7 separate regions of the Homo sapiens genome follow, and regions 1, 2, 3, 4, 6 and 7 are each linked to region 5. Evidence: promoter capture Hi-C in 16 types of primary human blood cells and fetal thymus (Javierre and others, 2016). All regions are on one chromosome and are shown on one strand. The core of a region is centred on a gene start or on the middle of the fragment in contact, and the rest is flanking DNA. Distances in the headings are between cores, read along the strand shown. Region 1 holds the start of ORC5 (origin recognition complex subunit 5). Region 2 holds the start of FBXL13 (F-box and leucine rich repeat protein 13). Region 3 overlaps ATXN7L1 (ataxin 7 like 1). Region 4 holds the start of NAPEPLD (N-acyl phosphatidylethanolamine phospholipase D). Region 5 holds the start of IMMP2L (inner mitochondrial membrane peptidase subunit 2). Region 6 holds the start of ING3 (inhibitor of growth family member 3). Region 7 holds the start of PUS7 (pseudouridine synthase 7).

Region 1 (4,269 bases), core at 1,205-3,704, 7.4 Mb before region 5:
TCAGATTTACGCAGGAAAAAGACTTTCTAAATGGCATACAGCTATGGCAAAAGCAGCTCAACTGCTAAAAATAGACTAAAAATTTACTTGAAATGAATAGGTAATGTAATACATGAATCTTTTTCTGAAGTTTATATGTAACAATCATAAATTAACTGGCCCAAAAATTCTGTCTCAGCAGGATGCAGTGGCTCAAGCCTGTCATCCCAACACTTTGGGAGGCCAAGGCAGGCAGATCACTTGAGTTCAGGAGTTCGCCTGGGAAATACAGTGAAACCCCATCTCTACAAAAAACACAAAAATAGCCAGGCTTGGAGGCAAACACCTGTGGTCCCAGCTACTCGGAGGCTGAGGTGGGCGGACTGCTTGAGCCTGGGAGGCAGAGACTGCAGTGAGCCAAGATCATGCCACTGCACTCCAGCCTGGGAAAGAAAGCCAAACCCTGTCTCAAAAAACAAAAACAAAAAATTCTGTCTCAAGAATTAAATGCATGTTGCTGAGTATCTCTGCTATCCATTACATGTTGTTGCCTAATAATACCTTAAACATCTTTTCTATTGTGACCTAGAATTATATTGAACTGTTCCACTGTTATTTAACCTTTCACCTTCATAAATCTCGCTAACATAAACTGCAATAAGCTAGTACCTGACACAGAAAAGGTGCTCGGTAAATATTTATTTATTGAACAAATAAATGAGTATTCTTAGAAACATGAACCAATTTTTTATATTTCTTTGCTATAGTTGTTTGTATTTCCCACATGCACAGCACCTTGCAGAAAACTGATATTAAAATATTGTTAAACATAATTTTCATTAAAAGCAAAGGTCAAAAACTCTTCTGTGATCCACCACTAAGTTTACTCATCCCTATTTGCCAATTTGCTCTTTCAGCAGGAACATTTCTGGCTGGAGTGATCTGCGTTCCATAGATGAAATGCAGAGAACATAATCAAGAAAATGCTCCAGTAATAATATAACTATAATTGAAAGCAGTATAAATAGAAAATTAATTGAAGATGCAGTTGTTGACCTCTAACTTCCCTAAATAATGCACCCCTTTAGACAGAGGGTAGTACTTTTCCACTAATGCTTCACAGGCCACCTCAAATTGCCATGCAATATTTCTAGTTGGATGAAAGTACAGTCACGTGTACATTCAAAGATGGACCACATATACAACAGTGATCTCATAAGATTATAATACCCTATTTTCACTGTACCTTTTCTATGTTTAGACACTTTTAGATGCAGACTTATCACTGTGTTACAACTGCCTACAGTATTCAGTATAGTAGCACCGCTGTAGAGGTTTATAGCCTAGGAGGAACAGGCTACACCATACAGCCTAGGTGTATAGCAGGCTACACCATCTAGGTTTGTGTAAATACACTTTCTGATATTCACAGGGATTAAATTGCCTAACGATGCATTTCTCAGGACGTATCCCCCTCACTAAGTGGCAGCAACGCATGACTGTACTTAAAAAAGCAAACCAGAAGATGGGGGTATGAGTATGACCCTGAATTCTCATTCACTCTCTTCGCAGGTAAGATCCAAGTTTGATTAATTCCAATTCTGATTGAGTCTGAATCAAAAAGCACATCAAAGACCACCAGAAAATAGTCAAAAATAGGTTAAATTTTGAATTGGTGAACGCTACCCTCTGCCTATTGAAAGGACTCCCTACGTATCTATGTTCATCCAGACAAGACAAACTCCTCTCTAGGGCATCCTGTGAACTATCAGTTAAGGAGAAAAGTTTACCCTAGACCTCTTCTGGACTGTTACAATTCTGGAAAAGCCAGTAAATTTTTAAACCTGAAGCACTGCTTTGGCCCTTAGTGGCCTTGAAAGCAACCACCTCTCTACACTTGACTCACTCCAACTACCGCACAGAAACGTGTGAACTTACATTTGAATAAATAACACCCTGCAAACACATCTGTTACATAAATGTCATTGGGTTGGGGTAAGATAACAAGCAACTTCTAGGAGCTAATGTGGGCAAACTTCTGAAAAGTGTGGCGTGTTTCAAATACGTCTTAGGCAACGTCCTATAGTGCAGGCCGGTCGCTCTCAGACTGTCTCCTCTTCAATATTCGGAAGAGACTGTGGGTGAAGCTGCAGTACAGAACCACAACACCCCTATTTAACGTAAAAACGGCCTTTTGGCCCTCAATCCAAACACGAAAAAACAAATATTGGAACAGGTCGCAAGACTACCGAAACGTCTGCCTCCAGGATCTGGAAGACAGTTTAACTACAATACCTCTCCAAACAAGGACTGCAAGATGGACACTTGAGACTCGCGACAAAGCACCACGTTTTCCAAGTGGGGCATTCTGGCAGGCACCACCGCAGAGGCCAGTGCAGCCAGCCCACAGGACCCTTGCACAAGACGGAGCCTCTCCCGAGTCTGGCGGCCCACGCTCCCGCCGGAAACCGGACCCGCAGCGTCGTGGGAGGAGCCTGCGCTGCCGGGCTGCGGCGTGACGGCAGCGCGTACGCCGAGCGTCGCCGCCGCTCTAGTCTCAGGGCCGGAACCATCCTCTTCTCGCTGGTCCTGTGCGCGCCGAGGTTTTGCCCATTCTTGGGCTTGGTGGGGATTTCGGGCTGACGCTTTTTCCACTCAAAGGCTAAGGAGACGACATGGAGATGGGCGAATAGGGAAGGGGTGGAAGGGGTTAAGGGGGTCCCGTGGGCCTCCAATGACCCCTGAACCCCGTGCCTTTAGTTTTACCGGCTGGAAGCCCCAAGTTTAGAAACCTTGAGTGCCTAAGAAGACGGACCCGGAGCTGGGGCCCTTAGAGGGACGTGGAAGGCGGACTTAGAAGACTAATATTGTCAAAAGATGTTTTTGTTGTCGTTTTTTTCCCTGACGACGTTGTGGGAAATTAGTGGCATTGAGTACAAAACAGGGTGTAATGGGGTTTAATGCACAGCTTGGAATTACTATTTTTTGTGCAAGCTTTAAACCAGATGTGGAAAGCCTCTCAGTCCTAATGGGATGAAGTCGTAGTGTGTGTTGGTGAGGTTGATAGTAAAAATAATGCTACTTTTAGCATTAGGCTTTCACGTGTATTTATTTGTGAGGCACCTACTAGCGACTAAACACTAGAAGATTCTGGAAATAAGATACAGAAGTAGGCAAGTGCATGGTGGAAAGAGAGCTTGGCGTCCTGAAACCCCTGGGTTGGGACCACTGACTGACTCAACTGCTGAATAGGGGGACTTTGGAATAGTTGAGCCTCAACTTCCTTATCTATAAAATAGGGATAATACTGGCTAGGTTATTGCTAGGAGTAGAAGATCCTGTACATACTACCTGTTATACATAAATTTAAATTGTGGACTTCAATCTGCCCATAGATTGTAGATCAGTCTTAGATTTGTGATGGTCAAAAGGATCTTTTGAGAGTTGTGGTATATAACGTATTAGCTAGTCAAAATAGTATTTTCACAGCAACAATTCAAAAGCATTTGCCCAGGTACTTTTTAATAGAGAATTCTAAAGGTTATAATGGGACCACCCATTAAATTTCAATGTCTCCAAGGGAAGCTGGCCTCTGATACTCTCCTAAGATGGTTATACGTCCGTAACATACTGTGCATATAAGGTATACATATATTATAATCATAACACGACATCTTTATAGCATTCAATAAAACTGACTAAACTGTCTAAAATGTTAGTCTCCCTCTCTATATACTTTATGAGGACAGGAAACACTGTCTTCACAGTTCAATTTCCAGCATACACAGTTAACGCCTGGCAGTTACATAATAAAGATAATTGTTGATCTGAGAGAACATGCCTTACCATCTGGATGATTTAGGATGGTTTCTCAGAGGAGAGAACCTGGAAGCTGAGGCTGAAGAAAAGATTCACCTGTGAGACCAAGAAGGAAATTGTAAACAAAAGAATGTACAGACAAAAAGGGACAAATGGGCAATCCCATAACTGAAACTAGCAAATAGTTTTTACATATAAACCTGGAGAGTAGTAGGAGGTCAGGCTGGGGACCAATAAAGAATTGTAGGCAGAGAAGCAAATGTTGAGATTTGACTTAGAAATATTCCTTCTGGCTACAGTGTGGAAAGTGGAATCAATTTCATTTGTTGAAACGACTATTGCAGTCTCCCAAACAGTGAATAATAATGGCCTCGATAGGCAGCCAAGATGGCCGAATAGGAACAGCTCTGGTCTACAGTTCCCAGCATGAGTGATGCAGAAGACGGGTGATTTCTGCATTTCCATCTGCGG
Region 2 (4,293 bases), core at 914-3,413, 8.5 Mb before region 5:
ACTGAGCCATCACTCAGAATGGCTGCACCCTGAATTGTAAATATAAACGTTCCACTTTCTGACCCCCACCTCCTGTGTTTCCAGCTCCCTCACTTAATTACTCCCTCTACTTCTCTTCACTCACCTCTTAGAGGAGTCTTCACTTTCTGTCCATGTATCAGTATGATATCCTTTTCTCATTTCCCACTGAGTCCTTAGAGTCCTTGGCCCATCACTTCAGATACTCAGGAGCTTAGCTCCCTAACCTACTGCCTTTCCATTCTATTAATATATGCCTGGCAAATTCCTATCCCAGACGAAGTCAACTTGGTTATCTCTGTACCTACATCTGATTTACTGACTGCTACTTGAGAAAATCACACAACCGGGAAGATGGGTACCATTCTCCCTACATATTTTCAAGCACAATTGTATAGAGGTACAACACAAAACTCACTGTAATAAATTAAAACAATACAGCTATGGACAGAGTAAAAAGTTAGAATTCTCCATCTTTTCCCCCAAAACCATTCCACAAGACATCTGTTATTAACAGTTTGGCATAGGTTCTATGCATGCACTATTGTCTTAAAGCTAGATATATACACATATATGTACATAAACACATATACAACATATATGAAATCAAATGGACAGCTAGAGCAGAATGGACAGTTGCTAAGCAACTTGCACTTTTTCTTTTTTACTTAATAATATGTGTTGGGAGCCAGCCATGTGGTGTATGCCTGTAGTCCTAGCTACTTGGGAGGATGAGGTGGGAGGATCAATTGAGCCCAGGAGTTTGAGGCTGCAGTGAGCTAGGATGGAGCCACTACACCCTAGCCTGGGTGGCAGACCAACACCCCGTGTCTCAATAATAATGATGATAATAATAATATGTCTTGGAGGACATTTCTTCTTAGTAGGTACAGATATACTTTATTCTACATAATGCCTCATTCGCTTAGTCACTCTAGGTCATTTACTATTTTTACTATGAAACAAAGTTATAATGAATATCCTTGTACATCCTCCTGAACACATGTGCAAGTATTTCTCTAAAGTAGATCCCTAGAAGTAGAAATGCTTGGTTAAAGGGTACATGTATTTAACATCTTAATAAATATTTCTCAATTACCATCCAAAAAAGAGACGGGTGGGGGGTCTCTACCAAATTGCCCTCCCAACCGCCTAGGAGCGTTACTACCCTCAGGTAGGACCTCCTCTTTCTTTCCCTAGACATCTCTCTCCCTCATTCTCCACATAACGTATCTTTGCTCGAACCTCCTACTGCACCAACATCCCCATCCCCACTCAAACACGCACATTCTTGGTAAATATCTCACCAACTATTTGTAGAGAAAAAAAGAGGTCAACAAAGGCAAATGTTCTCAGCTTCCTACCCCCAAACCTACAAAACCTAATGTCTATCCCCTTCCTGTCTTCCTTCCCTACTCTTATAACGGCAGTAGGAGGGCAGTCCTTCCTGTTGTCTAAAGGCAATCCTGGTTGAGAGGGTCCTTACCTTCACAAAGGGCTGACTACACTGACCAAAGGTCTCAGCTTCCACTCTTCCCTCCGCTAACCTCCATCTATTTTCTGCCCTCACGGCTCCATGGAAACCTCAGGCTCACCTTGGGCAGAATCCAGCTCCTTATCTTAGGTGACTAGTGCCTACTCCCTACTTCTGACAACATTCTTCATAATGCCAGTCTGCTGATTTTCCTCCTCAGGCTCTCTGGCACTTCTTTCTCACTCCTCCACTCCTCAGGTACTTCTTGTCCAAACCTTAAAATCTGAGTTTGGGGTTTCCGATCTGGGCCTTGTGCTCATTCCCCCTGGGAGATGTCACCCATTCCCCACGTGCAGCCACCATCACCCTCTGTTTTCTCTCTAATCAGCGTCTTCAGCCCTGATCGCCTACAAGTCCGAATTTGACTTCACTTTCTCGCATTCTGCCCCGCCTTCCCTCCACTCCTCCCCAATCCCGAAACCTAGTCCCTCCTCCGGGAAGTCTTTCCTGACTCCTCCCCCTTCTAACTCCCCACCGACGGTCTGTGTCCGCTGCCACGCGTGTCCAGTACCTCGCAGACCTGAGGAATGTAGTTCTCCTTGAAGTAGTTCTTCAGCCTCGGGTTGGCATTGCGTAGCGAGGCCATGGCCCAAGGCCTGACGGAGAAGCTGCGATAGTACCCTCCCCGCGCTGGGACTAGGGGCCGGGCGCGTGCGGGCGTTGTCCCGGCAACCAGGGGGCGGGGCTGGGCGTGGCACCGCCCCGCGCTCCGCTGCCAGGGGCGGGAGGGAGGAATGGTTGCTTCACGCCCCGGGGGAAGAGACGGGAAGCTCGGCTCTGGGTTGCGGGCCCCGGCGTCTCCGCGTGGGGCGCACCGTCCGACCCCCCCCTCCCGGTGTGCAGCGCCCCGCACCGCCCCGCCTCGCCTGGGAGAAGCCGCCGGGACGCGCCGGGCTGGAGTGGGCGGTTATAGGCTTTGAGCTAGGCCGTTTCCGGGAGGCGGAGCTCAGACCCCATTTCCTTTCTCCACATCCAGGTCAGGTGGCGTTTGCTGTGGCGGCTAGGCCCGCGTGCGCTGGAGACCTCCGCGCTGGCCCCCGCGAGCCTCCTGCCCTGGCCCGGCGCTGCGGCTCTGCCGCGGCGGCAGCATGGGTGGCCCCCGGGGCGCGGGCTGGGTGGCGGCGGGCCTGCTGCTCGGCGCGGGCGCCTGCTACTGCATTTACAGGCTGACCCGGGGTCGGCGGCGGGGCGACCGCGAGCTCGGGATACGCTCTTCGAAGTCCGCAGGTGGGACCCCGGGGTTTCCGGCAGGTGGGCGGGGACTGGGCAGGGGGGCTCCCCAGGCCGGGGTGGTGGCTTGCGTGTGCTCGGGGTAAAATGAGGAGCCGAGCTAGAGGGAGAGGCAGTACTTGTGTGAGTGCAGGGTGCTGCGCCGCCCCCGCCGCCCCTTTGCTGACTATACTGGTATGAAAACTTGCCCTGGCTTTCCTGCCTGAGCTCCGCGTCACAGCGGAGGATTAGATTTCTTAAAAACCTGTTGATGGCCTCTCATTTTAAAGCTTGCTCCGGGCCTTTGTGTAACTAAAGGGATTCTCCCGATTGTGGAAGGGCTGTTGAGGGGCCCAGAGCCATAGGTCAATCTCTGCTTGCAGGTGCCCTGGAAGAAGGGACGTCAGAGGGTCAGTTGTGCGGGCGCTCGGCCCGGCCTCAGACGGGAGGTACCTGGGAGTCACAGTGGTCCAAGACCTCGCAGCCTGGTGTGTGTTTTGGAAATGGGAACAGTTGTCTGCGCGAGACACACCCTCCCAGCGGACAAATGCATGATTCGGTTTCTGTCCAAAAGTTGATCGGTACATTAAAACCCTCCAAAGGCATGTTTCACATCATGGAAGCTGTTAGGGAAATAATTTAAAATATCATATCTGCCATCCAAGAAACTCCTGTCCACAATTGTAGAAGAGAGCTAAACAGCTTCATTGTTGAATAAGCACAAACTAAATTGCCTCACACATCACGGGCAATTTGCTAATGGGATAGCAGGAAGAATTCTAATTCCTTTAAATGTAGCTGGACAGATAGAACCGATTTCATATTACATACGTGTTCTCAAGATAAAAAATAATTTGTCCTTAGGTAAGAGGACTTGACAGTACCATTTGCTACATGTAGTTTATCCTGAATTTACTGGTAATTGGGGTGGTTGTTATCTAATTGCCTTTATCCAGAGGAAAAATAAAAATATCTTTATGATGTGGAACCAGGTGCCCAGGCTAAAAACTCACAGAGTTGGGGAGATTGGGGATCTATCTTCCTGGAAGAGTAGGTTTCAAAGAGTACGCTTTCGAACAGTAGGCTCCAAAGCTTTTAAGAAAGTCTTTCTTGGGCTGTAAAACTGGCCAAATGCTTATTTCACTTTTAAAAAGATTTACAGGCTGGGTGTGGTGGCTCACACCTGTAATCCCAGCACTCTGGGAGGCCAAGGCAGGCGGATCATGTGGTCAGGAGTTCAAGACCAGCTTGACCAACATGGGGAAGCCCCATCTCTACTAAAAATACAAAAATTAGCCGGGCTTGGCGGTGGGTGCCTGTAATCCCAGCTACTCAGGAGGCTGAGGCAGGAGAATCACTTGAACCCAGGAGGCAGAGGTTGCAGTGTGCCAAGATTGCACCATTGCACTCCAGCTTGTGCGACAGAGCAAGATTCTGTCTCAAAAAACAAAAAACAAACAAAAAGATTTACATTTGTATCAAAGAAGCAGAAAAAGGAGTTTTGTTTTGTTTTCAGACAGGGACTCCCTCTG
Region 3 (3,973 bases), core at 925-3,424, 5.9 Mb before region 5:
GAACACTAAGGGCAGATTAAAAAAAAAAAATACACAGATGCTCTCTGACTTACAATGGGATTATATCTGGATAAACCCATCATAAATTGAAAATATCGTAAGTCAAAAATGCATTTAAGGGCCAGTCACAGTGGCTCATGCCTGTAATCCCAGCACTTTGGGAAGCTGAGGCGGGTGGATCACCTGAGGTCAGGAGTTCAAGACCAGCCTGGCCAACATGGTGAAACCCCATCTCTACTAAAAATACAAAAATCAGCAGAGTGTGGTGGTGGGCGCCTGTAATCCTAGCTACTTGGGAGGCTGAGGCAGGAGAATCCCTTGAACCCAGGAGATGGAGGTTGCAGTGAGCCAAGATTGTGCCATTGCACTCCAGCCTGGGTGATGAGAGTGAAAGTCCATCTCAAAACAAACAAACAAACAAACAAAACCCACCCATTTAATATAATAACCTACTGAACCTCATAGCCTTAGCCTACCCTATCTTAAATGTGCTCAGAACATAACCTACAGTCGGGCAGAATGCCCTAACACGAAGCCTATTTTATAATAAAGTGTTGAATATCTCATGTAATGTATTGCATATCATATTGAAAATGAAAAACAGAATGGTTACATGGGTACTTAAAGTACAGTTTCTATGGAATGCATGTCACTTCTGTACCATCTTGAAACCAAAAAATCATAAGTCGAACCATTGTAAGTCAGACACCGTCTGTATCTATATGTAATTGTTGGCAAGACACTGAGAGGTTTATGCCAATGAATCTATTAACAGATCAGGGAGTTGGCCCAGAAAGGAGGTGGGAGTGAAGGGGCCCAGAAGGGAAGGTAACAATTCCTGACATAGTTTCTGGAGCCTACTGGTCCACAAGCTTCCCTTACTCAACCTACCCCTAATAAGAGTCTCTCTCGAGACAGGTGAGCTGCCACAGTCACCTGAGAATCATCATAAGCCATATGAAAGCTAATTCAGACTTTCATAGCCACTGATGACTTTTAAACATATTCCTATCTTTCTCTCATTGCATTTCCTTTGACTATGCACCCACACAGAGATGGCGCCTGGTTCTATAAACTGATGCATGAGGGGAATAAACTCACAGATGAATCTGTACCCCATGGAGGTTCCTGCAATGTTCTGATGCTGAGGCAGGACCAGGCTTGGCAGATTGGTGTTATGGGTTAAATTTCTCCACTTCAGACTTCATATGTTGATGTCTTAATCCCTAGTACCCGAGAATATAAGCACATTTGGAGAGAAAGTCTTTGAAGAGGTGACTAAGTTAAAATGAGGCCATTAGGATGGGGCCCTAATCCAATAGGATAGGTGTCCTTAAGAAAAGGAAGGGACGACAATGGCACAAGTCCAGAGGGTGGATCACATGAAGAGGCGGCAAGAGGGCAGCCATCTGCAAGCCAAGAAGGGGCCTCAGGAGAAACCAAACTTGCTGGCACCTTAATCTTGGACCTCCAGCTTCCAGAATCATGAGAAAATAAACTTTGGTTGTTGAACCCACCCAGGCTGTTTCATTTTGTTATGACAGCCCTATCATACCAAGACCAATACCTAAAAACCATGCAAGTTCACTAGATCAGGGAGAAAAAGTATAGGATGGAGGCAGAGGCCTAGGTGCAGCTCGGATGCATCCTCCTCCTTGGGCTGTGTTTCAGAGCAGTGTGACAGAGCAGGAATGTGGCCTGGCTTCAGCTACCCGCAGAAGAGCATTCTTTCATGCATTCCCACTGACCATGAGACCCACACCACTACCTCACTGACACCATACCCACTCACCCCAAGGCTTTAGTCATACAAAGAAAAGAGCCATTCTATATTGTTCTTCGGTGCTCTCATAATGTTTAACCATGCTTTTTACTTAAAGAATTCCAGGAACTGGACTGAAGAGATCCAAAATATGGAACCAAGGTTGCGGAGTGTCCCACCTCAGGAAGGAATGCTGAACAACTGATTTATAGCCTTGTTGTTGCCGGCTAGACCACCAGGTGGCCCATGACTCAAGATAATCATCACAACCAGATACATTGACTTGCATACCCTAACCCTCACATGCGTTGCCCAGCCCAGCCTGCATACCCTACCCTGATATCAATTCCTGTACTTCGCCTAATAAAAAAAATCCCAACTGGGGACGGACACGGTGGTTCATGCCTGTAATCCCAGCACTTTGGGAGGCTGAGGCGGGTGGATGGCTTGACCTCAGGAGTTTGAGACCAGCCTGGGCAACATGGAGGAAACCCCATCTCTACTAAAAATACATAACTTAGCTGGGCATGGTGGCACATGCCTGTAGCCCCAGCTACTTGGGAGGGTGAGGTGGGAGGATCACCTGGGTCCAGGAGGTAGAGGCTGCAGTGAGCCGTGATCGTGCCACTGCACTCTAGCCTGGGCAACACAGAGCAAGACCCTGTGTCAATTAAAAAAAAAAAAAAATCCCAATCGGCTGTTTTCAGAGGGTCAGTCAGGGAATTCTCTCTCTCTCTACCTTATGCCCTGGCGTAAGCGCCAATGAAGCCTTGTCTGGGAAGACTCTTTTCGCCTCATTTCTATTGCACCAAAAGCCCAAGAACCCATGGTCAGTAACAGCAAGGTCAAGGTGGGACAAATCTCCTAAACCCTGATAACTGGCAGTCTGCCTGCCCTGAAGTCCTGAAGCTGAAGTAGTCTACAAGTACACGGAGCAGGTGTGAGTAGCTGGTCTGAAAATGTATGACTCCAGGTCATAGTCTGGGAGTGATCAACTCCTTTTATCAGCTTACTTTCTTGTTTCACCTCTTACCCAAAAAGTAATCTGATTACTGGTTCTAATTAATGTATATGTCATGGCTGTTGTTCCAGAAAAGACAAGACCTTGGGGGTGAATGGACTATGGCAAAGTGAGGTCGCTGTTAGCAGACTCCCAAAGGTTTGACGAAATTACACAGACCATCTGGCTCAGTGCTGCCTTTGGCTGGGAATTCACTGGTCTCTAGGTTCTGCCTGGGTGCCTTGGTCTTCCCGGAGTGTAGGGTGGACAGAACCACTCCCCTGGGGCCAAGAGAGAAGGAGTGGGCTCACAAATGCTCACTGCTGCTAAGGTGCCCAGCTGCCCCGGATCAATTAAGTTTAAACAGCAGCTATGTCACTGGGGCTGGGGTGGAGGGAAGAATCAAAGTGAGGAAGGAGGGTGTTTCTAAGATATTGGCAGGCCAATGTCTGGAGGGCCTGGGAGGGGCAACGTGCTCTAGGAGACAGAGCTGAAAGGCCTTTACTTTCCCAAGGATGGCAGGGTGGGAGGGTTTAGCTCATTCAAATGCAAAAGCCTTTCAGTATTTACTGCCACTCCTCCCAGCTCCAACATAAAGGCCTATAGGTTCTCTTCACATCTTTCCATTCACTTGGGCTGTGGGGGTGATTGACACAGCTGGGGGCAGCCCCCATAATCATTCCTAGCTGAGATGCATACAAACCAACACACACCTCAAGCTTGACACCTTACGAAGGTGGGCCGAAAGTCCTCCCGGTCCCAACCAGACATACGGAGGAGGCACGGGGAAGTGGAACAGAGGCCCCACACACAGGGGCAGATTTGAATCAAATTAGAACAAAGAGTCCCTTAGCATCGTGTCATAGCCAGTTAGCCCAGAGCAAATGGGGGCATGAGGAGGCGAAGGTCCGATGGATCATGTCCGAGCCCGAGTTTTAGCTTCTCAGCTCCCCTGTATGAGCCAGGCCCCAAAGCCAGGCTTTTCCTACTAGGACCAAAGGGCTGGACTTGGCCCCCACCAGCTCAGTGGGGCCAGTGTGAGAAAGCACAGGACAGACTCTAAACGTCAAAGGCCTAAAGCAAGGAAGCCTCATCATTATTCTCTGCAAGGTTAAAGGAGACAGGGCACTTCTTTTTTTATTTTTGAGACGGAGTTTCGCTCTTGTTGCCCAGGCTGGAGTGCAATGGCGCGCTCTCGGCTCACAGCAACC
Region 4 (3,702 bases), core at 398-2,897, 8.4 Mb before region 5:
ACTATATCCACAGCTATCCATCACCACAAAGAAAAAGCAGAATGAAACAACAAAATTAAAGGCAAATACTGCTTTTCCAAACACAGACTAAATGTTCATAAAAATCCTCTCAGTTTACCAAACTCACAAATACTCAAAGTAACATAATACCCCTTTCGAACAAACACAAGAATGACTGTATCAACTAAAGTATAACCAAAACCCTGTGATGGAATGCTTATGCTAAAATGTTCTTCATATAGTTATAACTGGACTAATTTTAAAATTAGAATTTTGTAACATAGAATTTCTACAATATAATTTGGAATTCTGAGTGAAAATAAGGGTATGAGAAATACACTAAGTATTTTTATCTCTTGGAGACTTACCATAATTCTTGTAGCAGGAAAGCCTGCAGAATGTTAACAAAACAAAATCTCTGAAAATCCTGACTATATTTTCAGTTGACTTGAAACAAATTTAACCCCTCAATCTCTCCTTAAATTATTATTTTAAATAAGTACTTTTACCCTAAATTTCTTCTTTAACAGACCCAGTATTTTCTTGCAACAAAAATCACACTATTGTGGGATATAGGTAATCTTCTTTTTAAAGATTACATAACTTCTTTCTAAACGATGTCCATGTCTGCGGCTAATTCATAACCAATGTAACTGAAAATAGAAATGGAAATGTTAGAGATTTCCATTTTTTAACAAACATGGGAATTATTTCTCAATTTGAAGAACTGCATCTCAGGAATGACTTCCTGGACAAATTAATCAGAATTATCAAGTAGCAAACATTTCATGCTAAGCCAAAGCCAACCAGGTGAGTCAGTCATATTATAACATGTATATATAACAACGTACAGTAAAGGCAAAGACAAGAACTAAATGACTTTTTAAAAGGCTGTTAAACTTTACTCACTCCCTTAATATTTTCCAGGTTTAACTGACGTATAATGAATGCATGTGATCCCGGAACCCATGGAAGAGTATCTACCATATCGAGCTCTAGCTTGAAAAAAAAAAAAAAGGAAAAAACAAACAAACAAAACAACAACAACAAAAACCTATCTGAATACGTGTTCTGAAAAGCCCACAATAATACCCAATTTATAAGAAGCAAACAACCACAGAACAGAAAACTCAAGAAAGCACAGCCTTCCACCACCCCTCCCCAGCTAGCCCCATTTTTTTTTTTGCTCTTCATTTCCATTCCATAGTTAAATAAGTACACTTATTCCAAAATAAAAGGGGAGAAACCTGTTGGAATGGATTTTTAGAAGATAAACACTATAGATGAAGCAACAATAAGTTGCTCGGAGGAAGTTGTCGACCCATTCATTTACATACAACCAAAAGAAGATAAACCCACATGTATTCCTATCAGTGAAGATGCAACCTGGTAATTTGCAGGGAAGATAGGATCTCAAATCCCAGACAGCTACTCTCCCAAAGAGAAAAAAAATAATGCTGTGGCTCTTCACCGAGGCAGCTTCAGAGATGCAGGCTCCGCAACTCGCGAGGTGCGAAAATTCAAATGAAGCCCTGTCGCTCACAAGTGCGGCATCTCCGAGATGAGGGAGGGCTCGGGGACGGGAAACCCACTCTCAGCCCGCTCCACTTCGCCGAAGAATTCCAAACCACCCCAGGCTCAGCAGTGTGGATTGCTCCGCCCAGAGACCGTGGAGGAGGCAGCAGAGAGGTCACAGAGCACAGCAGGCGGGAGAAAACCGCCTCCCGCGAGGTCCAACAGAAACCACGGAGCTCCGGACACTCGGGATCCCGGGCCGCGGGCGCGCGGCCAGAGCGGCGGGGTGCGAGCGCGGGGGTGCGGACTCACCTCGCGCTTGGGGTGGCCGGGAGCGCGCGCCGCCTCAGTTCCGCGGCTTCCGGCCACAGAGTCCCCGCGCAAAGCGCCGCCGCGTAGCGGGAGGGGCGACCGCGGCAGGCGCTCGGGTTCTTCCTAACCCGAGCCCGCCGCGCTGGCTCCGCCGAGGACGCCAGCAGCTGCAGGCAGCGCTTCAGCTCTCGCCGCCTCGCCATCGTTGGGGCGAGTCGTCGCCGGGTCACTCCCTTATTATGACCTTCGAATCTGACAGCAGGGCCAGCGGTGGCCTCCTTCAGGCTGCCTCTCCAGCCCTTACCAAGATGGCCGCCCCTGTGGGCCGGGGCGCCGAAGCCATCTTGGTAAAGGAAGCGCCTGGGAGCACGCGGCCTGCCCCGGCCCGCCTCGCGACTCAAACACTCTGCAGGGACCCTCCTAAGATCAAATTGGTTCCCCCCGCTGTCCTAAGCCAGAGGCTTACTTTCAGATCGCATGAACGCATTCCTGGACACCAGCCACAGTTGCTAAAACTAAATGGGATCCTGCAGACCCATTGACGGACTGTCATAGCCAACTCAATCACAGTCGAGAAGCATTTGAATACTTACAGCCTATGGCGCTAGGATCCTGGTAGCGAAGAAACTAAACTCTAATTTGAAATGTTGTACAGTACGTATTGAATATTAATGGGAGCACGGCATTGTTCACTGTGTGATCGTTTACTTTTAAAATGATGTCACAGCCCCCTGGTACACACGGTTCTCATCTAAATTTGCATCTTTTTTAACGCTAGGATAACTATGAAAGAGCATACGATTGTGATTCTGAGTTTCTTACTGGATTTGCTTTTTAAACTGCAGAATGAAATTAGTTGTTTCAAGAAGTAAAGTACAGGCATGTCGAAGTAAAATTCAACAATGGGTTGTTGGGCAAAAAGATTATAAAAGTCCTGGGGTGTGCCAGGGTCAAAAAAAAAAAAAAAAGCTTGTCCCTGGGGTTATCTTGGCAAAAAAGAAACCACCACCACAGGTTCTAAATGCAGATAAGACTGGCAGAAAAATGCAGACCAAACTATTCTGCATTTTGAAAGTGAATGTGCCTGTGTGACATTGGAGGAATGTAAAGAACTGTATGTCAAGTGTGGACTTTATCTCCTCAGGCTAGCTTAGAGTGGCTGCTGAACTTAAGGGTGATTAAGAGCTGCTTGCACCTGGGTGGAGCTGAAACTGCATAAGGTGAATAATACCTTTGTGCAACAGAAGAAAAAAAAAAAAGTAACAGCATACATACAAACCCAAAGGGTAAGTTGAAGTTACTACTCAAAAGTTCTTCATAGTGTTCTTGACTAAGCAACGGAGAAGTAATCCCGGCACTTTGGGAGGGCAAGGCAGGAGAATCCTTAGAGCCCAGGAGTTGGAGACCAACTTGGGCAACATAGCGAGACTTCATCTCTACAAATAATAATTAAAAAAAAAAAAAAGTAGCCAGCCTTGATGGCCCGCCCTTGTGGTCCCAGCTACTCCAGAGGCTGAGGTGGGAGGATCGATTGAGCCTGGGAGATCAAGGCCGCAGTGAGCTGTGATCACGCCACTACACTCCAGCCTGGGCAACAGAGAAGACCCCATTTCCCCAAAAAAAAAAAAAAAGCTGGGCGCAGTGGCTCACGCCTGTAATTCCAGCACTTTGGGAGGCCAAGGCAGGAGGATCACCTGAGGTCAGGAGTTCGAGACCAGCCTGGCCAACATGGCGAAACCCTGTCTCAAGTAAAAATACAAAAACTAGCTAGGCATAGTGGAGCTCACCTGTAATCCCAGCTACTAGGGAGGCTGAGGCAGTAGAACTGCTTGAACCCCAGAGATGGAGGTTGCAGTGAGCAAAGATGGCACCACT
Region 5 (4,178 bases), core at 581-3,080:
AAATCCACAAAACTGGTGAAAGGCCTACCCCAAAACAGCCATCTCCAATACAATCTCATCATTCTCACCATCCTACTTTTATCAAAGTGCTGATAAAAGTGCGTAGCACATGGTAAGAGAGAATTAGCTATTGAATCAATGAAGGAACCCATTATCAATAAACAATCACTTCCTGTTTTCCATAAATTATGTGGTCACCTATCACTTGAGCACAAACAAATAGGCACGTTCAGGACACAGGCAGCCAGTATCAGAATAGGCAGCCTATCACAGAGGGCAATTCTACTTTTCCTGTGTAAGAATCCAAGAATGCAGTTTTACTACATTCCTGCTTGTAGCTAATCTGAATTTCAACTAATTTAAAACGGTTATTTATATGTGACATATAGGATGCATAATGAGCTCCCAACCTTGTGAGAGGAGCTGTGTTTCATTTCACCATACAGGGGAGAGGGAAGCAGTGTATTAAAGAAGTGATAGAAAAGTCCCACAGAAGAACCAATGAAATAGACCACACTGAAAATCACAGTAAGCCTCAGAGAACTTCAGTGTCCTTTTTGGCAACTTTTCAAAAGTGAATGGAATGCTTGCCAGGAGGTACCAAGAGTGAAAGCCCAGAGAAAAAGGCCCAGCCTGGTCATCTCTCTCCCCTCAAAACATCTTCTTCTGTAAGCTTGAGAGATCCCAAAGAACTTCAACACTTGTAATCTTGTTACTAACTTTATGCTTTGGGGTCCTAAAGGATTTTTTCAGGAGTACCCTTTTAAAATGTAAACATCCCTAGGGGGGTTACTGTTCATTATCAAACAGGACCTGGATTCTTTAGTGCTATGGTCTCAGGGATTAGTCAAAGCTGGCTAATAAGATAGGGGCCGGAGACAGACAACTAGAGAGGACCAATGTTCCAAGGTAAAAACAGGTAAAGGGGAAGTGCAGTTTTCTGTCGGGTCAAGGGGCTAAAAGGGATCCACATGCCCAAGCTGTTAAACTCTATAGACTGTGTGAGGCTGAAAACAGTCCGGGGCCTGGAGCCTGTGACTTTGAAGGTGGGTCCTCCAGTTCCCGATGAAAAGGTAGAATCTGGGCCCAAGTTCCCCACGAGCAGTTCTGGACATCTAGCCCTTCTCTCTCTCGCTCGCTCTCAGGATAAAGTCCTAGGTCCTTCCACCCCTGACCATTCCTTACTTACCCTTTCTCCCGCTCTTCCTCGGTGAGAAGGGGTAAGTGGTTATTTTGTGCCCTCGCCCAATTTGGCCAAAACCCTAAAAGTAAAAAACGACAGACAGACACGTGCTTTAAAATCATGTTGTTCAAGCCTGACGCTCTCCCACCACCTGCCCAACACTTCCAGGCAGAAGGCAGCGCGCCCCCACAGCGCTCCCTCACGGCCAGAGCCGGGGGCCGGACTAGGCCCCTTTGTGAGGACTGGGAGAGGGCGCGTTGTTGGGGCGCCGGCTCGGCGGGGAGGAGCGGGCCAGCTCCGGGCCAGGTGTGCCGCCTGTGGCGCCGGTTTCTCAACCTAGTTAGCCAGTGGCACCAAGAAGAGGACTAGGCTGGGGTGGCCGCCGCACGCGCCTCAGATAAACACGCGCACGCACACATGCTCGCGATCACGCAGGACTCGCGGCCGCGCACCCCTCCGCCTCCCGGCAACGCCCGCCCCGCCGGGGCCGGGGCCGACTCCCAGGGAAGGGTCCCCAGCCCAAGAGACCACCAAGGGTCGGCGGCTACGCGCCCGCCGACCCCTGCCAGCCTCACAGCCCCCCACCCGCCGCCGGACGCCGGGCGCCCGCCCTCCGCACCCGCTGCGCAGCTCAGCCCGGGGGAAGTCCCCGCGCAGACCCCGCCCTCCGCCGGCGGCAAGCTCCGCCCCGCTGCCCCGTCGCGCGCTGGCCGCCCGAAGCTCCGCCCCCGGCGGAAAACTGGTCTCTGGACCGCCCGCCCAGGTCGGGCTCAAAATGCGGCGTGGATCTGAAAGGATCAAACACAACACTAATTCAGCAAGCTATTATTGAGCACTTGCCCTAAGCTCAGCAACGTACTAATGGGGGAGACTACAATAAAGAGCCGAAAAGTCTATGAAACTGTGTCTTCAGCTCTTCCTCTTGTTTTAGAAGCCAGGAAACAGAGAACCCTCACAGTTACTTAAGTACAGGGCAGTAGTGGCAAAGCACCTCACTAGCGATCTCTGGGCAACTCTTCATTTCATTTTTTCCTACTCATGAGCACTCAGGAAAACTATTCAGTTTTGCTGCCTCCAGGTAAAACAAAGTGAGTAACACAGGACAGGCGGTTTACTTGAGAGAAACGGGAATTTCATACTGAAGCTTTTGCCCTCAAATGGTACAAACTCTTTTTTTTTTTTTCCTGAGACGGAGTCTCGCTCTGTCGCCAGAGCGACACTGCAATCTCCGCCTCCCGGGTTCACGCCATTCTCCTGCCTCAGCCTCCCTAGTAGCCGGGACTACAGGCCCCCGCCACCATGCCCGGCTAATCTTCTTGTATTTTTAGTAGAGATGGGATTTCACCGTGTTAGCAAAGATGGTCTCCATCTCCTGACCTCGTGATCCGCTCACCTAGGCCTCCCAAAGTGCTAGGATTACAGGCGTGAGCCACTGCGCCCGGCCGAATGGTACAAACTCTTAACTGGGTTATTACAACCTACAAAGAAACCTTCTTATCCATGTTATTAATTATCCTAATTCAATGTGGTTTAAAATGTTGATGAAAGTACCCAAATCATGGTGCTCCAACAAGCTGGATGCCAACCAGGTACTCGTAAGTACTTGCAATTACAGGTGCGATATTTTCATTCCATATCATCCCAAGATGCCCTTCCTTCACGTGAAGCAGCCAGAAAGATCAACTACCAGATTCCGCATGATTGAGGAATTGATAAATAGAAAGGGAAGACCGAAACCGGCCAAATTTTCCCTTCGAAGTGAAACTTGAGAAACTTGCGTGCATTTTACCTGAGTTCCTTTCTCAGCAGATAAACTGTCAGACCTCCCAGATAGTGTCAAGGAAATGCAACTTTCCAGAACACTACATCTGGACAATGAGGTGCATCTGCTGCCTGTTCACAAACTCCTCTTCCTTACCCCTCCATAATTCCCTGCTATAGAAAGCCCTAACTTTAGTCTCCCTAAGACATGTTTGAGACTGGTCTCCCTGCCAGCATCACCTGCATTAAAGCCTGTCTTCCCTGGCAATACTCGTTGTCTCAGGGACTGGTTTTCTTTGCTAGGAGCAACCCAACCTAGGCTGAAGCCCAGGCATTTAGCAGCAGTGGCACCTAGAAATACTGAACAGACATAAAATACTTTTTTTCTCCTTTTCTTACTCCTCCAGTTGTATCTTCATTATTTCTGTCTCTATTCTCCCTCTAGATACTGCCAAACTACTCTGTGCACTTTCAGATCACTTAATACTAATGTAAATAACAGACATTCTGGCACTCTTGGTTCAAAATTTATTCTAAAGGTTTAAGAATCTACTCAGGGTCTTAAATAGCCTGATAACTAAAATTCCAAGAGTTTCCTAAAGAGAGCAAAATTGCTCTCCTGTGAAGGGGATATGTCCCAGTTTTTCTTACTTGTCACTGAAATAATTACTGCAAAGTAAGCTCTTTTCGGCCAGTGCTTAAGGACTTAATTTCAAGAGCACTTAGGTGACAGGACCACCCTCATCAAATAGCAGTCAAGAACTATTTGGTACCATGACCCCAAATTGAATGGAGCTCCTGGTCACTAGGAACTGACAGTCTGGGATGGAATGTAGGTGAATAAACAACAAAGACAGGTGTTTATGGCCTTTATTGTATTGGGAAGTCAATAAACATACAAAAAGAGTTGCTAGGTCTGGCCTGATTTTATCACTAAGATTCATCAAGTGTACTTAAAAAGAAGCTAATATCTGGAAAGGGCAGAACTATGGTATATTAGTCAGGGTTTCCTAGAGGGACAGAACCAATAGGATAGACATATAAATATAAAGAGGAGTTTATTAAGTATTAACTTACATGATGACAAAGTCCCACAATAGGCTGTCTGCAAGCTTGAGGAGCAAGAGAGCCAGTCCGAGTCTCAAAATTGAAGAACTTTGAATCCGATGTTTGAGGGCAGTAAGCGTCCAGCACAGGAGAAAGCTGTAGGCTGAGAGACTAGGCCAGTCTCTCC
Region 6 (4,028 bases), core at 699-3,198, 9.4 Mb after region 5:
CAAGGGGACAATTTAATCTGGTCCTAGGGGTTTATGATGTCTCCAAACAAACTGACAAGCAAATTCTAATGCTCTCCATGAAAACTCAATTTCAACTCCAGCTCAAAGAATCCTTATGCTTGTAATCCCAGAAACAGGAATTCAGAGTCCAAAATCGCAACCCAACAGGAAAAAGCCACCATGAGTAAAAGTGCCCATTTCTGAAGAAATAGCACTAAAAGGCCCATAAATGTTTCAATATTAGGTTTAACAGAAACAAGATACAGACTAAATAATTTGTATAAGAAATTATAAGATGTCTTGAAAAGAGAACCGAATAGAACTTCCAAACCTGAAAAATTATGAAAATTCTAAAATAAAACATATAAAAGAAAGATTAAGATAAATAAGAGAATAAAGAGAGAAAGTCTTAATGGAAAAAATGAGAAATAAGCAATACTGAAAAGACAAACGCTGAGAATTTTCTAGAATTGTTGCAGGGCACCAATCCTGAAATTCAGGAATCCCCTCAAATCCTAAGCATAATTTTAAAATTTTAAGGAAAGAAAAGGGAATAAGGAAGGAATTCAGACTTAGATCACTACAAAACTGCAAAAAGATGTCAAAGAGATGTTAAAAGCAGCCAGAAGAAGGAAGGATGGGAAACGAAGAAAGGAGGAAAAAAAGAAGGGAGAAAAAGATCGAAAGTACTTGATTTTCGATGGAAGTAATGAAAAACTTAACTAGAAACTATAAAATTCTAATTCTTATTAGGATCGAAGTAAGGTTCCGTTGAGATTCATCATGATTCATCATTCACGACAGGAAAGTTTCCTGCTTAAGAGCAGTGAAAACCTTGAGTACAAGAGTATGTAATGGAGAAGGAAAGCAAGAAACACACACACACAGTTTCAACTGCAATTTGAAAAACAGAAAATGAACAATAAATTATGAACTAATGACAATTTCCCCAGAAAATCGAAAAGTTAAGAAGAGTGGAAAATAACAATATCTAGCATTTATTGAGTGCAAGAGTTTTTAATAAAAAACAATTTAAAAAGAAACTGAGTAGGGACGTACTAAATATATCACAGGAAAACATTTGCTGGGAGAGGTCGAAAAGTAGAAACTAAAGAACGCCGAAGACAACCAACCTCGAATATGGACTATTTACTCAACATAAAGTTACTGCTATTAACAGCCTATTAGAAATCAAGGCTGCATCCGTAATTCATGGCTGCTCACTGTGATGATGAAGATTATTATTATTATTATTTGCGGATGCAGATTGTATGTATAGATCAATTACATTAGAATGACGATTAGATGGACCGCAAACTAGAATATATAAGTGGCTACTGACACTATTTGTGCATCTTTTAATCTGGGAAATGTATATTCACTCCATAGTCTCAGTATAAACTATTTTAAAATTACACGTAAGCCAACCAGGTGTCTCTTTTATATTTTAGAGTGAATAATGAGGATAAATTCCAGTAGAGAGTTCTATTTTAAGCAATCCAAATTCCCCGAACTTTGCTGATTATTCTAGTGTTTAGAACCTTTGCTATTTGCCTGGCACTTCTTGAAACCCATAACTCACAAACGCCGGGGCATGGAATCACATCAAAGAACAGGTGAAAAGTTGTTCCTAGTTGTGTTATGCAGGTGCATACAACTCCCGCCATTCTCTGTGCAAAAATCAACAAATAAACAGAGGCACCGCATTTCGGATTCTGTTACGCACTGTTTGCAATGGCGCCCGGTATTCGTAGTTTCTGCGAGGGGAGCCGCCAGCGCGCCAACCCTCGCTGAGGAGGAAGAAAACTACATTTCCCACAGAGGCACGGGGGCGAACACCGGCCGGGCTACGTCATTGCTTGAACCAACCAATAGCAGCTCCGGGCGGCAGTGAGGCAAGCGCCTCAGGCGCCAAAGTGGTTTTTTTTTTTTTCTTTTTTTTTTTTTGCCGGAGTCGAGCGGGTGCTGCTAGCGGAGGCGCCATATTGGAGGGGACAAAACTCCGGCGACAGCGAGTGACACAAATAAACCCCTGGACCCCCTTGTTCCCTCAGCTCTAAGGGCCGCGATGTTGTACCTAGAAGACTATCTGGAAAGTGAGTGCGCGGCGCTGGCGGCGGCCGCCAGTGGGACGTGCGGGCGGGCAAGAGCGCGAGTGGACGGGCAGCGAGATGGCGGGAGGGAGGGGGCGGCGGGGGATGTTTCTTTCTCACGGTAACTGGCAGCCTCGTTGTGGGCTGCCGGCCCCCTCGACCCCCCTGACGCACGCGCGCAGTGACGTAAGCGCGTATTTCGCCGTTGGCCCCGCCCCTCTGACGGACTCTCCCTTTGACAGTGATTGAGCAGCTTCCTATGGATCTGCGGGACCGCTTCACGGAAATGCGCGAGATGGACCTGCAGGTGCAGAGTAAGTCGGCGCGTCTACTACTCCTGTTCGCTGCGCGCGTTCAGTGCCAGACTTGCTTGTCATCACTGCTAGCGCCTAGTGCTCTTTCACTGTCCTCTGGCTCACTCCGCTAGTGCATAAGGAGTTGTCAAAAAGAACTGGCAGCCCTGAATCTCGCCTTCCCCTTCCCTCCCATGCTACTTTTTTCTGGCTTTTGCAAGAGCAGGAGGCATTGGGACACGTGTATTCCTTTCTAGAATGTGGGATTGTGCAAAAAATATTTCTCTACCGTCATTGACATAGTTATCTATGTTTCAATGGACGTCAGCATAATAAATGTTGAGATGTCGTCTTGAGCCTTTTCGTATCGAACTTAGATTTCAGCATTTATACTTATTTTAAAGTTCATCCTATTCACAGTTTTTCAAGAGTGGAAAGCACAGAAGCAGAGGTTATATATAGCTCTTTAGAGACCATGGCAAATGTCAAATTTTGAAAACTTAGTTACACATTAGATACATTTTAAATTGTAACAGAATCGTCATTTTCTTGGTTAAAATGAGTGACAGAAATTAGATTTCACTGTAAAGTTTCTTATGTGCTGTACTAAAAATTTTAGCAGTTAATGAACATTTCTTTTTCTTTCAGTGATAGCTTGGTAGTCTCTAGGACTTTTTCCCCAAATTAACTTTGCTCTTTCATAGAGCAACGACTATAAATAGGTGGCTCAGGGACCACCTGCTGCAGCTAAGAACCTGTCCTTTTCACTGCTCCTGGCTTCTCTGCCCATGACCACACACCCACTTCTATACCCTTTGCTTATGAGTATATTTTTCCGGTAAGTTTCAGGTGGCACATAATAAAAAGTGGTGGCATGGAAGCCACTTTCTGTTCAGTGGATTGTGATATGAAGTATGAATTGTGTGTGTGGTTCTCCAGCTATCTCACAAATTCATTTTAATTTTAGTGTAGTTGAAATGCTGAAGATTTGCTGAAGTAGTGTTCTCTGCAGGACTGAGCACAGACATTGATGTCAGATCTGAGTTTGTTTTAGGGCTTTACTAATTTACTCATTGACTCTGACTGTATTATCACTTGTGAGGGGCTTACATTGTCTATAAAAAGAGAATCATCCAAGGATTTAAAATGTTACACATGGATTAGAATTTCTAGTATCTGATACAAAGTAGGCATTAAATAAAGGGTAACTTACTTTAAATTATTTTTATATTTTATTGTTTAAAATTTTAAATTCTCTTGTAATTTGGGCTTACATTATACATATTACAGGCTTTTTAAACGTGCATTTCTTTACAGTAACTAGAATTTTCTAAAGTTAATAGGTATTATGGATTAACAGAACTGTGTGCCAAATAAATTCAGAAATGCTTATTTAAACAAAGGAACATACTTCTAAAAAATTAACCATAGGACTTCATAGAGTCTTTAAAAGGCTATTGTGGACTGGAAATCTCCAAAAGAAGTATATTATGAAAAGATTTTTCTCAACTTACATAACAACAGAATCTTTTTTATTAATTTTTCCTTTTTTTTTTTAGCAGACATCCAATGAGATGATTAGTCTTGGCATATAATTTGGGGAAAACTTACCTAGAATTAATGTTTAAATGATTGTACCTAC
Region 7 (4,171 bases), core at 1,355-3,854, 6.0 Mb before region 5:
ATACCATTTCCTGTCCTCATGTAGCTTACAATGTATTTGAGAATATATCTGAGAACAAAATAAATCTCAGGACATGCGAGCTCCAAAGAATTAAAACAGGGTAAGGGGCTGAGAGTAAGAGGGGTGTTCTTCAGTGATGCCTCGTCTAAGGAGGAGACTTCTGAGCAAAGACAAGGAAGAACCAGACAGGAAAAGATGTGTGTGAGGAGAGCTCCAGGCAGCCCGAACAGCACGTGTAAAGGACCTGAAACCGGAGCAAACTTAGTCGACAGTATGACCAGCTGGATTGTTCTCTCTCTCTCCTAGGTAAGGAAAAACGCTGCTTCATTAATACAGTACATGCATGCCCCTGCCTCTATCAAAAGACACGTTCAAGGCCGGGTGTGATGGCACACGCCTGTAATCCCAGCACTTCGGAAGGCTGAGGCGGGTGGATCACCTGAAGTCTGAAGTTCAAGACCAGCCTGGCCAACATGGTGAAACCCCGTCTCTACTAAAAATACAAAAATTAGGCGGGGCGCGGTGGCTCACGCCTGTAATCCCAGCACTTTGGGAGGCAGAGGCGGGCAGATCATGAGGTCAGGAAATCGAGACCATCCTGGCTAACACAGTGAAACCCCGCCTCTACTAAAAATATAAAAAATTAGCCGGGCGTGGTGGCGGGCGCCTGTAGTCCCAGCTACTCGGGAGGCTGAGGCAGGAGAATGGCGTGAACCCGGGAGGCGGAGCCTGCAGTGAGCCGAGATCGCGCCACTGCAATACATCTCCAGCCCTCAAGCTGGGTGAATGCTTAACGAGTGGATGGAGGTGCTGCCTCTGCAATACATGTGGGCGACAGAGCGAGACTGTCTCAAAATAAATAAATAAATAAATAAATAAATAAATAAATAAATAAAAATACAAAAATTAGCTGGGCATGGTGGCGTGCACATGTAATCCCAGCTACTCCGGAGGCTGAGGCAGGAGAATCGCTTGAACCCAGGAGGCTGAGGTTGCAGTGAGCCAAGATCGTGCCATTGCACTCCAGCCTGGGTGATGGAGTGAGACTCCGTCTAAAAAAAATAAATCAAAAAACAAAGATATGTTCAAGGCCGAGTGTGGTTGCTCAAGCCTGTAATTCCAGCACTTTGGGAGGTCAAAGCAGGAGGATTGCTTAAGGTCAGGAGTTTGAGGCCAGGCTGGGCAACACAGCGAGACCCTGTGTGGTGGCACATGCCTATAGTCCCAGCTACTTGGGAGGCTGAGGTGAGAGGATTGCTTGAGCCCAGGAGTTCAAGGCTGCAGTGAGCGATGATCACGCAACTGCACTCCAGCCTGGGCAACAAGAGCAAAATTCTGTCTCAAAAAAATTAAAAAAATAAAAATAAAAAAACCAAAAACATGTTCACAAGGAGTTGTTAAGTACGTACTGTTGGCTACTTTCCTAATGTTTGAACCTAACAATTGCCTAACCAACCCCTTTTCAATAGTGTTGTACAGTCTGATTTTCGACAGATCCCTCAATAGTCGAGGCTCCCCCAGGCCAATGGGGCATAGTCATTTCATAGATGATTAGAGGCTTGGGGATGGGGGGGAGGGAACCTTAGTAACCCTTTATTTTTGGAATGGAAAAAAAAAGTAGTCTGACGGGACCAAATATTTTAAAAACTAAACTCTTTGCCAACCCTACTCGGCAGGCAACGAAGGTGTGCTTCTAAACACCTCTGCGCAGGGCTGACGAGGAGGACTCGAATTTCAGCTTGCACAGCAGCACCTCCATCCACTCGTTAAGCATTCACCCAGCTTGAGGGCTGGAGAAAGCACTCTGAGTCTGCAGCCCGTCCACTCCTACTCTGGGAAATGCATACAAAGCAAGCAGTCCCCAGAGCCCGCGTGGCGCCTAGTAGGCTCCCAGTGAGCGGCGACGCAGGACACAGGGGTGGAACACGTGGGCTGGACCCACAGAAGGCAGGCGCGGCGAAGCAGTGGCACCGTGAAGGGCTTCAGGGCCAGTGTTCCTCTGACGGAGGGACAAGAGTTTAGGGAGCGTCCGGGGCAAAGAAAGGGAGGAGTGGGAAGGGGGCCCCCGGGGGACAGCGCCGCGCGGGGAGGAGGGGAGCGCTCGGGCGCGGCGCCTCCGGACGACTGGCCGGGCAGAGCGGAGCGGGGAGCGGGGAGCGGAGAGCGGCGCCTGCACCGCCGAAGCGCAGGACCCACTGGGTTCCAACCGTGCTCCCGCTGGCACGATCCATAATGGAGGCGCCGCGGGCTCTGACCACTGCGGGGCCGCCTTCCCAGTCCGCCTTCCCAGTCCGCACTGCCTCTTGGGGCGGGGCCCTGGGGCTGGGGCTGGGGCCAGGGCCAGGCCGAGGAGCCCCGGCGGCCGCGGGGAGGCCGCGCACTTACCCGGAGCCTGGGAGCGCGGGCGCGGCGTGAGCTGGGCGGCGAGGTGGCCAGCGCTCTGGTTGGGACGCAAGAGAGCGGCGAAGGCCACTTGGATGAGCCAGCGGCTAGGGCGGCCAGGCAAAAGCAGCGCTTTCCGCGCGGAGGACCAGATGCGCTCCAGCCGACTCACCGGCGGCCGGGCTCGCACACGTGCGGCGCAGCGACGCGCCGCGGCCCGACTGGACCCGCCCCGGGGGCGGAGTCCGCTCCCTGCCGCCGGCCCCGCCCCCGGCCCACCCACTCGGAGCGGCCTGCAAGCCAGGGAGCGCCCCAACGCGGACTCCCAGCCTACGCGCGTTCACCCTGGACCTTCCTCGCGACCGCGCCTGAGTCGCACCAGCGGCAGAGAGCGATTTCACCAAGCATCTAAGAGTTCTTTAGATCTTTAGGAAGTCTAAGGCAGCGATTGCCTCCTTTGGTGTTATATTCTAAGTGTTTCCTTCACATAGTTGTGGCCCTTTCACGTTGCACCGACCACGCAGTTGACAATAATGGAAAGAGAATCACTTTAGGGACTAAATATTGTTCTACATTTGATCCTGGGAATGTAGTGGATCTAAAAGCACCATCTTCCTACTTCTTACCGCTCTGGCTTGATGGCTTGCCATAGGATCTGCTTCAAGAAACCGGATCATAGGTTTTTTTTGTTTTGGTTTGGTTTGGTTTTGACAGAGTCTCGCTCTGTCGCACAGGCTGGAGTGCGGTGGCGTGAACACAGTTCACTGCAGCCTCGACCTCCCAGGCTCAAGCAATCCTCCCACTTCAGTATCCCAAGTAGCTGGGACTACAGGTGCATCCCACCGCACCCAGGCTAATTTTTTTGGGGGTGGGGGGTAGAGACAAGATTTCACTATGTTGCCCAGGCTCTAATAGTTTTTTTGCTTTTTGTTTGTTTGTTTGTTTTTTGAGACGGAGTCTTGCTCTGTCGCCCAGGCTGGAGTGCAATGGCGCGATCGCTGCTCACCGCAACCTCCGCCACCCGGGTTCAAGCGATTCTCCTGCCTCAGCCTCCCGAGTAGCTGGGATTACTGGCGCACGCCACCATGCCCGGCTTATTTTTTGTATTTTTAGTAGAGTACGGGGTTTCACTATGTTGGCCAGGCTGGTCTCGAACTCTTGACTTCGTGATCCGCCCGCCTCCGCCTCTGTGTTGAGATTACAGGCGTGAGCCACCGCTCCCAGCCTCTAATAGTTTTTCCGTTTTGTTTTATTTTGTTTGAGAGAGAGTCTCACTCTGTTGCAGGGTTCAAGCGATTCTCCTGCATCAGCCTCCCGAGTAGCTGGGCCTACGAGTGCTTGACATCATGCCAGACTAATTTTTTTGACGGGGTTTTTGCCTGTTGGCCTTGAACTCCTGACCTCAAGTGATTTGCCTGCCTAGGCCTCCCAAAGTACTGGGATTATAGGCATGAGCCACCATGCCCTGCCCAATTTGTTTTTTTGTTTTGTTTTTTACACAATGAAATATACTATTACCGGCCGGGCGCAGTGGCTCACGCCTGTAATCCCAGCACTTTGGGAGGCCGAGGTGGGCGGATCATGAGGTCAGGAGTTTGAGACCAGCCTGGCCAACATGGTGAAACCCCGTCTCTACTAAAAATACAAAAAATTACCCAGACGTGGTGGCACGCGCCTGTAATCCCAGCTACTTGGGAGGCTGAGGCAGGAGAATCGCTTGAACTCAGGAGGCGGAGGTTGCAGTGAGCTGAGATCGCACCATTGCACTCTAGCTTGGGCAACAAGATGG

What was found. Contacts are between HindIII fragments. The CHiCAGO score rates a contact against its expected background, and 5 or more counts as called.
Region 1: a contact is called between the fragment with the promoter of ORC5 here and the fragment with the promoter of IMMP2L in region 5, in 1 of 17 cell types (naive B cells). The highest score is 5.8, in naive B cells.
Region 2: the fragment with the promoter of FBXL13 here is called in contact with the fragment with the promoter of IMMP2L in region 5 in 2 of 17 cell types (naive CD8 T cells and total CD8 T cells); the score reaches 7.7 in naive CD8 T cells.
Region 3: a contact is called between a fragment that was not itself captured here and the fragment with the promoter of IMMP2L in region 5, in 1 of 17 cell types (monocytes). The highest score is 8.2, in monocytes.
Region 4: a contact is called between the fragment with the promoter of NAPEPLD here and the fragment with the promoter of IMMP2L in region 5, in 3 of 17 cell types (non-activated CD4 T cells, activated CD4 T cells and M0 macrophages). The highest score is 6.2, in non-activated CD4 T cells.
Region 6: the fragment with the promoter of ING3 here is called in contact with the fragment with the promoter of IMMP2L in region 5 in 1 of 17 cell types (activated CD4 T cells); the score reaches 8.7 in activated CD4 T cells.
Region 7: a contact is called between the fragment with the promoter of PUS7 here and the fragment with the promoter of IMMP2L in region 5, in 1 of 17 cell types (monocytes). The highest score is 6.8, in monocytes.

What each region holds. Positions count from the first base shown.
Region 1 is chr7:104,205,559-104,209,827 of GRCh38, forward strand. It overlaps ORC5 (origin recognition complex subunit 5), which reads right to left and starts at 2,455. Exons shown (of 14, transcript NM_002553.4): 1 at 2,275-2,455. The coding sequence starts at 2,346. RefSeq lists enhancers at 2,114-2,303, 2,344-2,423, 2,474-2,633. The HindIII fragment of the contact is 7,936 bases long and covers 1-2,971 here.
Region 2 is chr7:103,072,633-103,076,925 of GRCh38, forward strand. It overlaps FBXL13 (F-box and leucine rich repeat protein 13), which reads right to left and starts at 2,164. Exons shown (of 21, transcript NM_001394494.2): 1 at 2,064-2,164. The coding sequence starts at 2,138. It overlaps ARMC10 (armadillo repeat containing 10), which reads left to right and starts at 2,508. Exons shown (of 7, transcript NM_031905.5): 1 at 2,508-2,779; 2 at 3,145-3,249. The coding sequence starts at 2,641. RefSeq lists a silencer at 2,095-2,934 and an enhancer at 3,205-3,254. The HindIII fragment of the contact is 4,996 bases long and covers 1-3,049 here.
Region 3 is chr7:105,686,115-105,690,087 of GRCh38, forward strand. All of the region lies in intron 3 of ATXN7L1 (ataxin 7 like 1), which reads right to left. Among named protein-coding and RNA genes, the nearest start is that of EFCAB10, 110 kb to the left of the region's middle. RefSeq lists enhancers at 2,460-3,135, 3,136-3,811, 3,812-3,973. The HindIII fragment of the contact is 2,609 bases long and covers 871-3,479 here.
Region 4 is chr7:103,147,452-103,151,153 of GRCh38, forward strand. NAPEPLD (N-acyl phosphatidylethanolamine phospholipase D) reads right to left here and starts at 1,648. Exons shown (of 5, transcript NM_001122838.3): 1 at 1,360-1,648. It overlaps LOC105375434, which reads left to right. Exons shown (of 3, transcript XM_047421168.1): 2 at 1,567-3,113. The coding sequence ends at 2,369. The HindIII fragment of the contact is 3,849 bases long and covers 1-2,794 here.
Region 5 is chr7:111,560,662-111,564,839 of GRCh38, forward strand. It overlaps IMMP2L (inner mitochondrial membrane peptidase subunit 2), which reads right to left and starts at 1,831. Exons shown (of 6, transcript NM_032549.4): 1 at 1,190-1,831. RefSeq lists a silencer at 1,363-1,992. The HindIII fragment of the contact is 1,654 bases long and covers 672-2,325 here.
Region 6 is chr7:120,948,829-120,952,856 of GRCh38, forward strand. It overlaps ING3 (inhibitor of growth family member 3), which reads left to right and starts at 1,949. Exons shown (of 12, transcript NM_019071.3): 1 at 1,949-2,096; 2 at 2,336-2,407. The coding sequence starts at 2,069. RefSeq lists an enhancer at 2,492-2,571. The HindIII fragment of the contact is 9,487 bases long and covers 1-4,028 here.
Region 7 is chr7:105,519,667-105,523,837 of GRCh38, forward strand. It overlaps PUS7 (pseudouridine synthase 7), which reads right to left and starts at 2,605. Exons shown (of 16, transcript NM_019042.5): 1 at 2,386-2,605. RefSeq lists enhancers at 500-1,117, 1,432-2,086, 3,370-3,870 and silencers at 1,629-1,774, 1,984-2,733. The HindIII fragment of the contact is 10,027 bases long and covers 1-4,171 here.